2 separate regions of the Homo sapiens genome follow, and region 2 is linked to region 1. The links are contacts of gene promoters, found by promoter capture Hi-C in blood cells and fetal thymus (Javierre and others, 2016). All regions are on one chromosome and are shown on one strand. The core of a region is centred on a gene start or on the middle of the fragment in contact, and the rest is flanking DNA. Distances in the headings are between cores, read along the strand shown.

Region 1 (3,287 bases), core at 681-3,180:
CTGCACAACAGAGCAAAACCCTGTCTCAAAAATAAATGATAAAATAAGATAAAATGTGAAATGTTTTAAAAAGACAAATTGAGTTATTGTTAAGAAAAGATTGAAAGCTAAATAATAATACAAAATGTTACATCCATAAAAACCATATAAAGAGTGGCATAAACCGGGCAAGGTGGCACACGCCTGTAATCCCAGCACTTTGGGAGGCCGGGGTGGGCAGATCACAAGATCAGGACATTGAGACCATCCTGGTCAACATGATGAAACCCTGTCTCTACTAAAATACAAAAAAAAAAAAAATTAGCCGGGTGTGGTGGCGCACACCTGTAGTCCCAGCTACTCAGGAGGCTGAGGCATGGGAATCGTTTGAACTTGGGAGGCAGAGGTTGCAGTGAGCCGAAATCGCGCCACTGCACTCCAGCCTGGCAACAGAGCAAAACTCTGTCACACACACACACACACACACACACACACACACACACACAGTGGCATAATTAGCACATGGTACAAAAGAGCCAAAGGAGGAGAGGGAAGTGGGGGCCAAGTAGAGTAGGAGCCTTGCTGGAAGAGGGGAATGCAAAAGGATCTTGCAGCATGGAGAGATTTTAGACATACGTTTGGAGGGAATTCAGTGCAACCCACCAGGAGAAGGGCCATGGTGTGTGACTGGCCACACTCCTAAGTCTCCTCCTCACATGTGGCAATTATCCCAATTTCCCGAAAGTCACTTTATATTAGCATTTGGCAGAGCATGTTTCTCAAGAGAGTTAACATACACTCCAGACTAAAACACAAACAAACAAACAACAAATGAAATTGAAAATGTGGTTAAACAGGTGCCTTTATTGCAGAACTTCTCAGAACCCAAAGTACATCTGTAAATCTCTCCCAGATGATTAGGTCATAGATCCTATTTTCCCAAAAGAATCTCAAAGAACTGGTATTTTGGGAAGCACCACTTTAAACCTCCCAGCTATTGCTAGTGGGTGGAAAAGGGCAGCCAACCCATGGTAAGCAGCACGGTGGAAAGTACCGAACCAAAACAGCTGTCAGGCCTGACACTGTGCCTTCAGATCCCAGGACACTTGCTAATGAGCAGCTGGGGCAGGGGACAGTGACACAGCCAGTGAATAGTATTAGGGTATGGCTGACTCCAAAAAAAAATTAAGAGTATTATTGTCTCTATGTGACCCTATGCTAAAAAACTTCACCTCACAACACCCTTATCAAGTAGACTATAAAATCACTTTCACTTCAGTGCTAAAAAGGCTGGAGTACTTTGCTTAAGGTCACACAGCTAGTGACAGAACCAGGCTTTCATCCAGTGAGGGGGATGATTCCAAGAGCACTCAAGAGTCACAGCTTAGAGCAGAAATCAACTCCAGGAAGCAGCTGGGACTGCTCTACCATCTCAAGAAGAAGAACTAGTAAGTGTCAAGGCTGAGGTGAAAGCTCAGAAGCAGATGGTTTTATTAAAAATGGGCAGAACCAAAAACTGGGCTCAGGGTAGAGAAAGATGACGCAGGGAACAGAAGCACTTGGAGGTCAAGCACAACACAGTTTAGAGACTCACAAGCTCTGTGAGTGGTCGAGAACATTCTCATGGGGCAGCTGCCAGCTATTGCTTTTCCTGCTGGCAGCGTCCGCCACAGCAGCTGGAACACACTGATGTTTCGTGTGTTCCAGCCACAACAGTGTACGGTTCTCGTGAAAACTTACCCTCAAAATAGTTGATGCTACAATTATTTGTTTTGCGGTTTTACTTACCACAGTAGGTGTATGAAATACTTGCATCGGATGAGTTGCAGACCCAATACTGCTTCTGAGCTTCAGTAAATATGGAAGAAAACAGGGTGGAAAAAAACAGAAATGGTAACATGATTCAATATCTCCAAAGCTTTACAAATGCAAAGAGGATCAGTAACTAATCATCAGACTCTTCCTTTTCAGTAAGCAGAAAAGATTTAACTTAGTCATCAGTCACATGATTTCTGAGTTCCTATCCAACTGTTTCCTCTTTTTTTGTGTGTGTGTGCTCAACATTTGAGCACTTCCTGTAAAGGAAGAGAGAAAAATGATTTAGAATGTACTCTTCAAACACTTACTGTAAATGAGAGTGATCAAAGACTTAAAAATAAAACAAGACACTTTGGCCAGGCACGGTGGCTCATGCCTGTAATCTCAGTATTTTGGGAGGCTGAGGCAGGTGGATCACTTGAGGTCAGGAGTTCAAGACCAGCCTGGCTGACATGATGAAACACATCTCTACTAAAAATACAAAAATTAGCCAGGTGTGGTAGTGCATGCCTGTAATCCCAGCTATTCAGGAGGCTGAGGCAGGAGCTTCACTTTATCTGGGAGGCAGAGGTTGCAGTGAGCCAAGATGGCACCACTGCTCTCCAGCCTGGGCAACAGAGCAAGACTCCATTTCAAAAAAATTTTTTAAATGAAAAATAAAATAAAATAAACAAGACAATTCCCAGTCAACTGTAACAAAACCAGTCCCTAGGTCCCCCTGAAAGTCTCAACAGACAGGCACTCCTTTTCCCTCTGCATTATTCTTCTCTCCTACAGCTCTGTATAACAGCAGTCCCCAACATTTTTGGCCTCAGGGATCAGTTTCATGGAAGACAATTTTTCCACGGACTGAGGGGATGGGGAGGGATGGTTTCAGGGTGAAACTGTTCCACCTCAGAACATCAGGCATTAGATTCTTATAGGGAGCACGCAACCTAGATCCCTCGCTTGTATACTTCATAACAAGGTTCCTGCTCCCATGGGAATCTAATGCTGCTGCTGGTCTGACAGGAGCTGGAGCTCAGGTGGTAATGCTCGCTCACCTGCTGTTAACCTCCAGCTGTGCAGCCCACTTCCTAACAAGCCACAACCAGATTCCTAACAGGCCATGGACTGGTACTGGTCCACGGCCCCCAGAGGATGGGGCCTCCTGCTTTATAAAACAAATTCTCAGCTGGGCACGGTGGCTCATGCCTGTCATCCCAGCATTTTGGGATACCAAGGTGGGTGGATCACTTGAGGTCAGGAGTTCAAGACCAGCCTGGCCAACATGGTGAAATTCCGTCTCTACTAAAAATATAAAAATTAGCCAGGCATGGTGGCACACACCTGTAATCCCAGCTACTCGGGAGGCTGAGGCAGGAGAATCGCTTGAACCCAGGAGGCAGAGGTTGCAGTGAGCCAAGATTGGGCCACTACACTCCAGCCTGGGCAACAGAGTGAGACTCGGTCTCAAAAACAAACAAACAGGCCAGGCGCAGTGGCTCACC
Region 2 (3,440 bases), core at 692-3,191, 670 kb after region 1:
AGTCACCTAGGCCTTGCAAAACGGAAACTTAGAAAACGTGAGAAAATACAGCACTATCAGTCCTTGAAATTGCGAAGATGTCAACTGGCTAGAGTTTAATAACAAGAATGAGTAAACTCTGGGAATTCTGAAAAATCACACACATGAAACATACAGTCTAGTTATCATTTCTAGACTTCCTGCTCATTAAAAAATAATGGTAACCTGAAGATGTCACACTGCTTCTCTACAGATTTGACTGGTTTCTGGGTTCTGCCTAAAAGGACCCTGTTGGCAACAACCTAAGTTCACTTGTACTGATCACATTTTCCAAGTACTCTAGTCGGTTAATTTACACTTTATTTTTTTAAAAAGTTGATTTAAAAAAGAAACAACACAAGTTTAGAATCCATAAAATGTCAGCAATGCTGATGTGCACTGGACTGAAACATCTTGATCATCTTCTGATAGAAGTAATATTCCATACAAAAAGATTCTTAGATTCCATTTTTTGCTTCATTATTGTTTGTGGCTTGCTTTCTTTGAGCAATAAAGGGGTACATACACTTGTCCGCTCCTAGGAACCGATACATGCACACAACTGCTTCAAATGGTAGGATGCTGAAAAAGGGAAGTCACAGCTGTTAGCAAACTTGAAGTTTCAATTAAGACATCGGGCAGGCATGGAGAGACCCAGTCAGTGAGGGAACCCCTCCCAGTTACCTCTTCATGAAGGTCACGATGTACATGAGGCGGGGAGTGCAGATCATGGGCTGGTCAGTGAGGATGGCCTTCATGGCCTGCTTCACACAGTAATCAGGCTTCAGAGGTGGCAGAAAAGGCTCAATTTCTTTCCTGAAAGTTATTTATTCAAAAACAAAATGAAAAATTAACACAATAGAAAAGACTGGAAATACATATCAAAACATTAACAGTGATGTTATCTGAGTGATGGGATTTTGGGTACATTTTGTTTTCTTCATAGTGCTTTTCTGTATTTTCCAAATTTTCCTGCTATGAACACATTTTATTGGCACAGTCTGGAGAACAAGTTGGGAAAAAAAAGCAAAATTGGTCTGCTTTTCCATAAGATGAAAAAGTCATGTTTTTAAGATGCCTTAAAAGTATTTCAAATTATTTTCCTATGTTTTGCTTTCAATAGAAAGAGGAGAAGGTGTTTGGCATAGCAAACACTAATCTCAAGCAAGATGCCAAGCTTTTAGTATTAGTTGTAGTCAAAATGAGGGTGTAAGCTTTCAAAGTGAAAGGAAGGCCACAGGTATCCACTTTCCAGGATGCCGGAAGAGGGAAAGCTAAGGTATATTCTCTAGGGGCCCCTGAAATGAAGGGTATATAGACATCCTACCTTCAGTTTGATTCACTGGGTTACATGTTGAAATGATAGTGTGCAATTTATTCCTTTCATTCTTCATTTTGCCACCATAGCTTTGGACCCCTGCACCTGCTGCTATGCTACACTGGAGGAAACAGAGCTCCGCAAGACCCTCAGCAACTGCTTCCCAAGTACATAAGAGGAAAACAAAACAAAACAAACCACCAACACACACACATGTTCACACAGACACACACATGTGTGGGATAAGAGGCAGAGCTAGAGTCCATTTTCCAGGTCAGACTTGGGACTCCAAGCCTGACTTTGGAGTGATTCAAATCACCTTCCACCTATTTTGCTGCTTGTTCAGTTCAGTACACGTTAAGAATGGCCCCCAACCAACAGGGAACTGGTTTGGTTATCTTCCTTTGCCTTTCAAACTCACCCAAGCAAAGATAAAAGTAAGCATGTCTTCACAAGCATCCTCTTAATGATTCACAGTTTTGTTTATTCTGCTGAGCTCAAGTCAGATGTAACTTGACATTTATATTCCCATATACCTCCTTTCTATGTGTGTGGGTATTTTATTTCATTTTTCAGTATATCTAAATGGTTCTTCTCATTCTGCCAGAGTGAATCTAGTTACATACGCTTGCTGCAAAAAGGAAGTTTCCAAATCTGGAGTGTAATATTCAATGGTCTTTTCAGAAGAAAGGCACGTTACTCTCTGTGACAGTAACATTGCTTCATATCCAGACCCAAGTCACATGAAGGAATTTTCTTCTAGAATCCTTATTTACCAATACCAATTTTAAAGAAACAAAATAACTCCAAAAGATGAGCTTCTAAGGAAAAGACTGGATACTTATGTTTTCTCTTTACAGAGAAGCCATTTCCTATCTAATGATTCTGGATTAATTTCTGCAAATTAGTATCAGTGTGTAGCACCAGTCTCTCCTTTGCAAATCTTATACACCAATTTTACAAACTTTACAAATCTTGACCAATAAAAGCCACAGATTGTCAAATGATAGTTAAAATACAAGGTTATGTTTGAAAGTCCAGTTCCACATATTCTCCCAACATATTCTTTTTATCAGTAATAATATAGGTTCTCACTGACCTGATTCGGCAGCCTCTGAACATGCCAGTGTCTACAAGATAAGGGCAAACCAAGGTTGTTTTAATTCCATCCTTTTCAGCAGCCTTTAGTTCATGGCTCAGGGATTCATGAAAACCCACAACTCCAAATTTACTGGCACAGTAATCCTGAGTTAAAGAGGGGAGAAAGCAGAAATACTAAGCATATGCCCCTATCTCCAACCAAACTAAAGCTTCCCTGGTCCTATTACCATGTTTAGATGTCTAATACATAAGGTTACAGGTGACTACACAAAGAAAAGGAAATCATTTTAAAAGACAGATACCTGGCTGGGCATAGTGGCTCATGCCTGTAATCCTAGCACTTTGGGAGGCCGAGGTGGCTGGATCACTTAAGGTCAGGAGCTCGAGACCAGCCTGGCCAAAATGGTGAAACCCCGCCTCTACTAAAAATACAAAAATTAGCTGGGCATGGTGGGCCTGTGCCTGTAGTCCCAGCTACTCAGGAGGCTGAGGCAGGAGAATTGCTTGAACCTGGGAGGTGGAGGTTGCAGTGAGCCAAGATCACACCACTGCACTCCAGCCTGGGTGACAGAGTGAGACTCTGTCTCAAAAAAAAAAAAACAAAAACAAAAACAAAAACAAAAACAAAAAAAAAACACAAACCAGATACCTGATGTGGTTCAGTGCAGAAATAATATTTTCAAAGCAACAGCAGAAACAGATGAATACTTTTTGTCACATCAACTAAGTATCATATTACTTTGGGGAAGTTACCATAAAGGATTCTATGAAAGCTCACAAGCTGAAGTTAAAATGGAGAGAGGTTCACTTTGAAGTGTCTGGAAAATTTACAAATGGTCTCTTGTTCAGTAAAGGAGAAAGAAAAACCAGTTTGTTTAAATTAATGCAAGAAGAATAAAGGCAAATCTAGCTTAGGCTATAAATTGTTATGATTTGACTTTCTTTGTAAGGCGAAGTTAAAATGAAAATGATAATCATGCCTTGTAATCTTAAACTAGAACTT

The links. Contacts are between HindIII fragments. The CHiCAGO score rates a contact against its expected background, and 5 or more counts as called.
Region 2: a fragment that was not itself captured here is called in contact with the fragment with the promoter of LY96 in region 1 in 1 of 17 cell types (M0 macrophages); the score reaches 7.5 in M0 macrophages.

The regions. Positions count from the first base shown.
Region 1 is chr8:73,990,035-73,993,321 of GRCh38, reverse strand. LY96 (lymphocyte antigen 96) reads right to left here and starts at 1,930. Exons shown (of 5, transcript NM_015364.5): 1 at 1,768-1,930. The coding sequence starts at 1,879. RefSeq lists enhancers at 1,149-1,218, 1,589-1,688. The HindIII fragment of the contact is 3,298 bases long and covers 1,900-3,287 here.
Region 2 is chr8:73,320,073-73,323,512 of GRCh38, reverse strand. RDH10 (retinol dehydrogenase 10) reads right to left here. Exons shown (of 6, transcript NM_172037.5): 4 at 2,436-2,581; 5 at 703-834; 6 at 1-600. The coding sequence ends at 477. RDH10-AS1 (RDH10 antisense RNA 1) reads left to right here. Exons shown (of 6, transcript NR_125388.1): 4 at 1,426-1,773. Among named protein-coding and RNA genes, the nearest start is that of RDH10, 27 kb to the right of the region's middle. The HindIII fragment of the contact is 1,414 bases long and covers 1,235-2,648 here.